3 separate regions of the Homo sapiens genome follow, and all the other regions are linked to region 1. Evidence: promoter capture Hi-C in human tissues and cell types (Jung and others, 2019). All regions are on one chromosome and are shown on one strand. The core of a region is centred on a gene start or on the middle of the fragment in contact, and the rest is flanking DNA. Distances in the headings are between cores, read along the strand shown. Region 1 holds the start of CHRNA1 (cholinergic receptor nicotinic alpha 1 subunit). Region 2 overlaps CHN1 (chimerin 1). Region 3 has its middle 35 kb from the start of CHRNA1.

Region 1 (3,045 bases), core at 178-2,677:
GTCATTCAAGGATTCAGAATGTCAAAAGCAACACCACCTTCAGAACATGGTTTCTAAGGTTAACTTTGGGACCATGTCCATTCTAGCCGGTCAGAAGACTAGAAGGGCGGGGCTGAGCTCTGGTAGGTTTGTGAGTCTGAGAACATTTTTCCACTCATGCCACTGGCCAGAGGTCAGTCCCATGGCTCCATTTAGATGGAAGGGGCTGGTCAGAGGGTGGGGGTTGTATTTCTGCCACGGGGCTATTCCATGGAAGGGAGAGAACCAAATTTTTTTTTAGCAAACAGTTAACTGATCTCCCACAGTTTAAACAAAAAATATAAATAGTATGAGCTTGCAGCTCTCTCCTCTACCCTCCAAGCCCCTTCTCTAATGATTTGTTTGGATCCACTGGAATGAGAGGATCTGTCAGGATGTTGTTGTGGGCTTGAGGTGAGAGGACCTTTCTCACCTAGTTCCATGTGGGAAGGAGGCCTGGAAGGAACAGGCAGGGTACCTTTAAGTAACTGTCTCCTTCTGGGAACTCACCTCACACCCTGCAAAGAAGCACAGCTAGGGTAACAATACTTCTCAGACTGAGAAATTACTAACTGCTGGTTTTTAGGATGTTTTTCAAGCAAGATAATTGAAAAGCTGAACCACTCTGCTCTTTGCTTCCCTGAGTGAGAGTAGGCAGAGGGACGGATGGAAGGAGGCAGGAACCCGGAACGACTGCTGATGCGGTGGGACACTTTTTCCCAATAATTACTCTTCGCTTGAATCACAGTGCATAGGACGTGGGCAATTTGCTCCAGCTAATGGTTCGTGTGGGATAGGTATTGCCTGATACAGAGGCAGGGGTTGGAACAGCCACTCTGGGGGCCAGTAAAGCCAGTTTTATGGAAGAAGCTGTCTTTGTTAAAAACCAAACCCAATCAACGTGGGGGCTTCCCAGCAGCAGACTCAACACCAGCTACACTTTTCTGAAATCCAGGCAGTCAGAAAAGCCCCCGGCACCCTCAGCCTAACACTGAAGCAGAGGAAATGAAACTGAAGCCATGTTTGCAGAATGTGGATTTTTGTGGTTTAGGACAAACAGCTGACTATCTACTCAGACCAAATGACCCTAATCAAGTCAACCCACAGAGATGAGGTTCTGGTTTACACAAAAGAGAGGCAGTTTGCTCACCATTTAAAATAATTCCTTCCTTCCTATACATTTTTTTTTCATTAAGATCTGACTACTGGTGCATTTAAAATATAATGCAGTTCATACTCAGCTTGTCAAGGGTAAGCAATTGTGTAAAGTGAGGCATATCTGTAATGGTGTACAGTCCCAGTAACTCCCTGGGCTCCAGGGCTGAGGGCAGCCCAGCTGTCGCTCCCACAAACAGGTGGTGTAAAACAATAGCTCTAGTGAGCCGACTCGCTTTCCAAACCCTCCAGCAGACAAGCACCCAGCCAGAGTGCCAGTGAGAAGCACAGGCCACCACTCTGCCCTGGTCCACACAAGCTCCGGTAGCCCATGGAGCCCTGGCCTCTCCTCCTGCTCTTTAGCCTTTGCTCAGGTAAGTGCTGGGGTCAGGGGTGGGGAGAGGGCTCTCCTTTGAGGCTAAAGTGCTGGAGGCCCCCAAATCAAAGTCTTGCTTCTTTGATGAGACCACAGAATGGCAGAGCCTCCCCAACCAGGGGCTGCTCTGTCAGTTTCTTCCTGATGTTAGCTTGATTGAGTTTTTGGATAAAGATTTTTAGTTTGCCTTATCTAATTAAAATAGAAACTGCCTGGTCAAAGACTTCAAGATAGACACGCATGTCTCTCCCTCCATCATGCCTGGCAGCCGACTCATCCCTCTGAACACTCGGCACCATTTGTAGGACCTGGACCACTTGTGGATCATGGTAGTGTCCGGGGGTTCATATTTAAACAACTATGGATACTTAGAACAGTGCCTTATAATCACATACAATGGAGTTAACAAGTCCCTTTACTGCTCCAGGAGAATTCTAATAATAAAGAGGACTGATTGACAGCTACATGTGCTGGAGATAGAAACCAGTTAATAATCATAACTAAACTCTCTCCACAGAGACAAATATTTTTTAATTTTTTCAAAATTTCTGAAGTTAAAAAAAATTCCATATGAATACATTCCTACCTACTTTTTTTTTTTAAGATGTTACTATATATAGGTTTGGGTTTGAATTGAAACTATAAAACCTTGCACAGCATTTGACCTGCATTCTACTCTGGAATGTGTCCTAACACAGCAGCTGAAACACCATCCTGAATCCCAGACTTCCGCTAGAGGGAAACAGGAGATGTTTGCTGATTGCTTCACATAAAAGTTTACTGGTGATATCATCCCAACTGAGAAACAAGGTGGCTGACATCCTGTGATTTTTCATTTCCAATATTGCTCTGAAAAACACAGGCCTTCTGGTCAAGAGGCAAAAAGCTTTATTATTAATTTTTTTCAATATCAGAGTTGAGTGAAAGAGCCTAAACTCAGATAAATTATATCATGTGGGATTTGGACTCTGTCCAGCCAAAGCTGGCCTGATGTGTGTGTGTGTGTGTGTGTGTGTGTGCGCGCGCGTGCACACACATGCGTGCACGCAAAACCACAGTCACAGGAAAATTCTTAAATGATATGCTTTAATGTAAACATCCTTAAGAGATCTCTTAGGATTTTGGTTATTGCTAACCAAAAATGCATGATTAGCTATTAAAGAAGTATGTGATATGTATTTAGGTCAAATCTCGAGTTTGCTGGCATTGATTTCCATGGGTGTTTTATAGAAATTTAGAGCTAGATCAGGCAGTCCAACATCCTCAATTTTTTATTACAAGGAAACTAAAGCTGACCTGCCCAAGGTCACTTAATTTATACATTTTGGAATGTGGTCAGTTGGAGACTTGGTTTATTACATGCACAGTCAGAAAACACAGCCTGAACTAGCCAAAGGTAGCAAGAGATACAGAATCAGGTTAAGATAATAATGATCCATGGGACTAGTAACAGTTCAAAATTTCTTTTGCCCAGCCCAGGGAGCTATTTCCTACAT
Region 2 (3,045 bases), core at 160-2,659, 43 kb before region 1:
TGTATGAAGATATCAACATTATCACTGGTGCACTTAAACTGTACTTCAGGGATTTGCCAATTCCACTCATTACATATGATGCCTACCCTAAGTTTATAGAATCTGCCAGTAAGTATGAATGCATGTATTTCAAATAACCTGACAACGTCCTCTTGGTAATCACCTTCCTGGTTTTCTGGCTAACTTGAATGCATTTTATGAAATGTTTCCCCTTTGCCTCTCTCTATGGTTAATGTACTTACAAGAATTTTGCATTGTTCTCTAACGTAGATTATTTTATGACTTAATACCATCAGAAGCTTCTTTGTAATGTGCTAAACCTCATTTTCCAAAATAAGGCTTATACCAGTGCTCTTTAGATGTAAGCCAATGCTTTTGTAAAATAAAATAAAAATGAATAACTGGAAAAGTAAATTAAAAAAACAAAACCAGGCTGGCAGTGGCTCACGCCTGTAATCCCAGCACTTTGGGAGGCTGAGGTGGGCAGATCACCTGAAGTCAGGAGTGCAAGACCAGCCTGGCCAACATGGTGAAACCCCATCTCTACTAAAAATACAAAAAATTAGCTGGGCGTGGTGGCACGCGCCTGTAGTCCCAGCTACTCAGGAGGCTGAGGCAGGAGAATTGCTTGAACCCGGGAGGCAGAGGTTGCAGTGAGCTGAGATTGTGCCATTGCATTCCAGCCTGGGCAACAAGAGCAAAACTACGTCTCAAGAAATAAAACAAAAACAAACAAAAAACCAACTATCTTTTATTAAATTCAGCAAACATAAAATTTCTATCAGATTACTATATGTTTCTAAATTCTTATTCTCAGTTTCTGTGCTTGTATAAGTTCACTCAGACTATTAACAGCAAACTGGCACTGGCCCACACATTGTACTTTAAAAAGCACTATTTTATATCAAGAAGTTTTTGTAAATTCTAGTTGAAATGAAAATGAGAAAAAGCAAAGGTTTATTTGTCAAAGTTCATTTATGCTGTAAAAATCATACTTGTAATTCACACTTCATTTTTTAAAGAAGGGAATTCTTATTGGTTTTAAGTATTAGCATTACTGGTTTTTTTGGAAAAGATAGGCTATTTCTGTCATTTTGCTTTTCTCTCTTTAAAACCATATGTTGTCTTCATCTTTAGATGATAACATCACTTCCTTAGTAACACTAATTTGCTTTTTGACTTGGGAATTTCATGAAGTACAATCTTTCTTTGTTCTAAATTTTAGTTTCCCTCTCAGGGCTTTTGTAGAGGATTTTTGTGGTTAGTTCCATGGAGGTCTGATTTCTTGTGGGTCAGCTCAAGCTCCCATGTAGAGAACAGCTGTGAGAATTACACTGATTTCTTTCAAAGCATTAGGTTAGAAAGCATGAAAAATTCTAGGTCTCTTATGGACGCAGTGCTGATCATGAAAATTTGTATGAGGGATCTCACATGTCCTTGTCTCATGGGGCAGACATTTCCTCTCCAGTTAAGTCTGATTGCCACTCATCTAGAAAGCAACACACACACACACACACACACACACACACACACACACACACACACACACACACACACACACACACAGATAGCCCGTGAAAAGCTGCCTAGTCCACAGTATGCTCTGATCCCGAGGACTCCGATCCCACTGAAAGTGGGTAAGCTTCCACTCTGGAAGTAAAACTGAAGCTTGGCTCTATGCCTAACTCTGGGGCACACAATCAGCAGAGGACAAAGCAGTGATGCAAACCCAGGTTCTGAACTCCACACACCGCCATATCTAGGAAGAAGTAAAAGCCAAGCCTCCTCTTGGACTTCGAGGCCTTTGTCCCCACAATTCCAAATGACCTCTCCTTCCTTCCCCACACCCACCTTAGCTGCTGAAGAAAATCTCTCCTTTTTATTATCCTTCCAAATCATTTGTCATCGTTATGGAGTTTCTGAAACAGCCTTCCTGTCCAAAATTAGCAAGCCCCCTTATCTCACCCCTCAGAGAACTCTGGAAACCACATCATAAGAAAGAAACTTTCGGAAATCAAGGTAGAAATTTCTCCTTATAATTTCAGTTATTTGGATGTCTGATTTATGAATGACACCAAAAACCCTGGCATAATACCAATATATAATATAAACGTTTGTTGTACATGTTTAATAGCGATATCTTGTTTGTGGAATATTGTGTCCTTGTACACTCTCTTCTGGCAGTAGAGTCTGTTTCATTCTTTAGATGTGCAGATACGGCCATTCTCTTAAAAGGCAGACAAGGAAGATGAGAGAAATTAACATTTATAGAGCATAGACGAGGTGCCATGAATCCTGCCGAGCACTTTACATCCATGATGTAATTTTAGAAAGGAGATGTGATGGAGTATCAGTAAATTGTGTAAGATCACATTGCTCACTAGGGGCGGCGGCAATGGCATTCACACACACCTCTAAGGTCAGAGCCCTTGCTTTACCCACTCTGTCACACTGCCTGGCTCACTTGATAGAACAGGGAATGAGACTTACACAAGGGAAGAAGGAAGAACCCCTTTCAAACGAGGGACAGGGTTAAATGATCCTTCCTAATGCGGATATATTCTCCAAAATTTTTTTTCTCTCTCAGCTCCTAAAAATGTCTCTGGCATTTATTAGCATCCTTTGCCAACAAAATATCAGAATTTACATTAAACCTTTCTTCTACAAAAGCTGTTTGAGCTCTGCTTTTGCAGCTTTCTTGGAGGAACCTGTAGCTTAAAAGCTGGAAGGGGGTGACTGCAAGAAATGAAAAAGGAAAGCAAGGGTGGAGAAGGCCAGGTCATCCCATGCTACAGCTGGAAGTTCTTCCAAAGCCCCTGGAAACTCCCTGATGAACCCACCTGAAGTCTGTGTTCACTCACCCCCACCTTCCTTACTCCCTCCCCCTGCAGTTAAGACATTGCTGCCCTAGAATAAAAGGACAGGTGCTTGTCACAGAGCCTCCAGTAACCCAACATTATGGATGCTTCCTGGTCACGATGGAAACAGCACTGCCAAAGTTGAGCTCCCTGTGGTAATGAGGGGAGAAATCTTCCTCTGGCCAAG
Region 3 (3,045 bases), core at 359-2,858, 35 kb after region 1:
TGGTCTGGAACTCCTGATCTCGGGCGATCCACCCGCCTTGGCCTCCCAAAGTGCTGGGACTACAGGCGTGAGCCACCGCGCCCAGCCAGTTGTTTGTTTTTAAAGAGTGCTCTCATCCTAAGCTGTCCTATTGGGTACCTATGGGAAAATCAAATTAAACGACACAAAATAATTTAATGGCTACCCTTAGCGATTCCCTTAGCAAGATTAAAGAACACAATCAGACTTAAAACAAAAATTCAATCCACACCGCTATAAATTTTCCCTGGGTGGTGAGACTGCAAAAGGCACTTAAGTCACCAAAGCCCGGGACTTGGCAGGAGGCCCCAGCGTGGAGGCTGCAGCTCATGCTGACCAGGAAGGCCCGGAGCATCTCACGGTCATGAAAGGGCCTCCGCCCTCACGCAGGAGGTCCCCGGAGGCAGGTCTGGAACTCCGTCCAGTCCTCAGAGTGGCAGTGCACTAGCGACCCTGACTACGAGCTCCAGGAACAGGCGAAACCTGCCGCACTCAGCTCCTAGGGGCCCCAATTCTGACAAAGGGAGCCTGCAGCACTCTGTGTAGGATCCTTAAAGTCTTTGATGGGCTTAGAGCTAGAACCAACCAACCAGAGAGGAGAAAGAAAACGGATTCAAAGACAGGAAATACAATCGGCTAAAAGCAGCGTTTAATAGCCGCGTCCTGGCTAGGGAAGGGAAGGCACCAATGCGAGGCCTGCGTGGCTGAGTGGCGTCACCTTGCCCTTCCCGTGTAATGGGACCAAGGAAGAAGCACAGACCTACTGCCCGGGGCTCCCGCCCTCCACAGCCCCTCCCCTCCGGGTTTCCCAGCGCGGGAGCTATGGGGCAAGTGCACTGCCTCGCCGCTCCACACTCGCTTGAACGCGTAAGAAATCCTCGTCAGACTCAGCTCCGGGCTGGGAGGGCTTGCGGAGGCAGCGGCGCAGCAAGCTGGCCCCAGCCCGGGTGGCAGTTCGCACCCACGCACGTCCAGCCGGGGTCACCACCTGGAAGCGCTGCATCCCATCACCTGCGTCGGGTCCTTCCAGTGCCCACCGATTCCACTGCCCAGTTACGGGGAGGATTGTACGGGGGGTGGGGAGGGACACACAGCACCTCACGCACGCCGAGGGCACCAGGACCCTCTAGCAGCGACGCGCCTCAAGTCGCTGCAGAAGCTGCAGAAGGTACATCTAGCCCTGTCTGCATGGGCTCCTTCGGCGGAAGGGAACATCTCACACTCCAACCCGAGCAAATCTAGCGCTCCTGCCAACACCGCCCGCCGCAACAGCAACGAATTCATCCATCCCAGATTCGCCACCAGGGTCCGACGGTTCTGTCCCCGCGGGCCTTACCACTTGGCTTGCGGTGTTGACGCTGGACTGTCCGAAGGCTTTTGGCAAAGTTGCTTCCCAAGCATGTTTACTGTGGAAGGGTGAACAGCCACCAAAGACACCACCTGCAACACAAGTACATAGGAGGTTAAGAGCCACGTGTCTTTTCTGAATTAAGGGTAAAAGTGAGAGTTTCAGGAAGATGATGCTTATAATTAGAAACTCTTAACTTTCCCCCACTTTTACCTTTTTAGATCCATGGTTCAATTGCAAATACCTTCATTAAGCTTAATTGTCATTTTTTTTTAAAGGGAGGACAGGGGTTGCATTGGCAGGACTCACTTGTTCCTTCCCATAGGTCTGGTTCATTCCTCCCTGGGCACTTCCTGGCTGGGACTCGGGTGTCCCCGGCATATCACCGACTGCTCTGAGCCCCTCTGAGGCTGTCTACTAGGGAGAGTGCTGGTGGAACTGTGTGATCCAGAAATAACGCTCTTAAAAGTCTATGTTTTTATGATAATTACAGAATAGAATTTTAACATTGGAATTAACTTTTACTCCAACATTTCTCTATATAGTTGCAAAACTAGTTCAGAAATCTTAATGATCCACTTTTCCTTAAGAAGAATTGCATTTCTGTTTCCAGAAAGAATGCCTTGTGAAGAAGCTGCCCCCTCTTTAAATACACAGATCACAAAGCAAGTGGGAAAACAGATCTACATAGATACACAAATATTTATTCCTTCCACAAATGGAAGGATGCTGAGTGTTCTCCGTACCCGGCGCCATTCTTGGTCCTTGGGATATAACGATAAATCAAAATCAGGAAATATTTTATTTTACATAATAGATAATAAACTGAAGTAGAAATGATAAAATTTTTTAAATGGCATTAGAGGGCAGAGAGGAAATAAACAAGGAAATCTGTAAAATAGGTTGTGGCACCTTGGATAATGAGGCAGGAGGCAGGGTGGTTGGGAAAAGCCCTGGGAGGAGAACTGTGAGTGGAACCCGGATGGAGTCTAGCAGCAGGCACAGACCGGGAGGCCAGTGAAGCTGGGAAATGCCCGACACCCTTGGGTGGAGAACAAGGTAGACTGAAGAACAAGACAGATTTTCAGGTCATTACAACACCAGGAAAGGAGAAATCCCTGTTCCTGTCAAGCTTCCGAACCACTCTGATCTCTCTACACAAGACCAGCCCTGGCCGGGCGCGGTGCCTCACACCTGTAATCCTAGCACTTTGGGAGGCCAAGGCAGGTGGATAACCTGAGGTCAGGAGTTCGAGACCGGCCTGGCTAACATGGTGAAACCCTGTCTCTACTAAAAATACAAAAATTAGCCGGGTGTGGTGGCAGGCGCCTGTAATTCCAGCTACTTTCGGAGGCTGAGGCAGGAGAATCGCTTGAACCCAAGAGGTGGAGGTTGCAGTGAGCCGAGATGGCGCCATTGCATTCCAGCCTGGGTAACAAGAGCGAAACTCCATCTCAAAACACACACACGCACGCACACACACACCACCACCACCACCAACAAACCAGCCTTTTCCAGGAACACCCACCTGTTGCTGCGGGGGAGGATGGTTCTCAAGGCTTCCTCCCACAAAGGTTAACACCAGGACAACATTTTCCTTCATTTCCACCAATTCCATCATAATAACTTCCAAATAATAAGACATTCAAATACATTATCTTCAATTTAGCTCAATCTGA

What was found. The method cuts DNA at HindIII sites, captures the fragments that hold promoters and counts their contacts. A contact is called where the count stands out against the background at its distance.
Region 2: a contact is called between a fragment that was not itself captured here and the fragment with the promoter of CHRNA1 in region 1, in 1 of the 25 tissues and cell types used here (IMR-90 fibroblasts).
Region 3: a fragment that was not itself captured here is called in contact with the fragment with the promoter of CHRNA1 in region 1 in 5 of the 25 tissues and cell types used here (adrenal gland, bladder, hippocampus and 2 more).

What each region holds. Positions count from the first base shown.
Region 1 is chr2:174,762,854-174,765,898 of GRCh38, reverse strand. CHRNA1 (cholinergic receptor nicotinic alpha 1 subunit) reads left to right here and starts at 1,427. Exons shown (of 9, transcript NM_000079.4): 1 at 1,427-1,547. The coding sequence starts at 1,505. RefSeq lists an enhancer at 927-1,426. The HindIII fragment of the contact is 8,948 bases long and covers 1-3,045 here.
Region 2 is chr2:174,805,968-174,809,012 of GRCh38, reverse strand. It overlaps CHN1 (chimerin 1), which reads left to right. Exons shown (of 13, transcript NM_001822.7): 11 at 1-108. Among named protein-coding and RNA genes, the nearest start is that of CHRNA1, 43 kb to the right of the region's middle. The HindIII fragment of the contact is 4,550 bases long and covers 1-3,045 here.
Region 3 is chr2:174,728,134-174,731,178 of GRCh38, reverse strand. No RefSeq gene overlaps it. Among named protein-coding and RNA genes, the nearest start is that of CHRNA1, 35 kb to the left of the region's middle. RefSeq lists a silencer at 724-1,018 and an enhancer at 617-1,356. The HindIII fragment of the contact is 6,702 bases long and covers 1-3,045 here.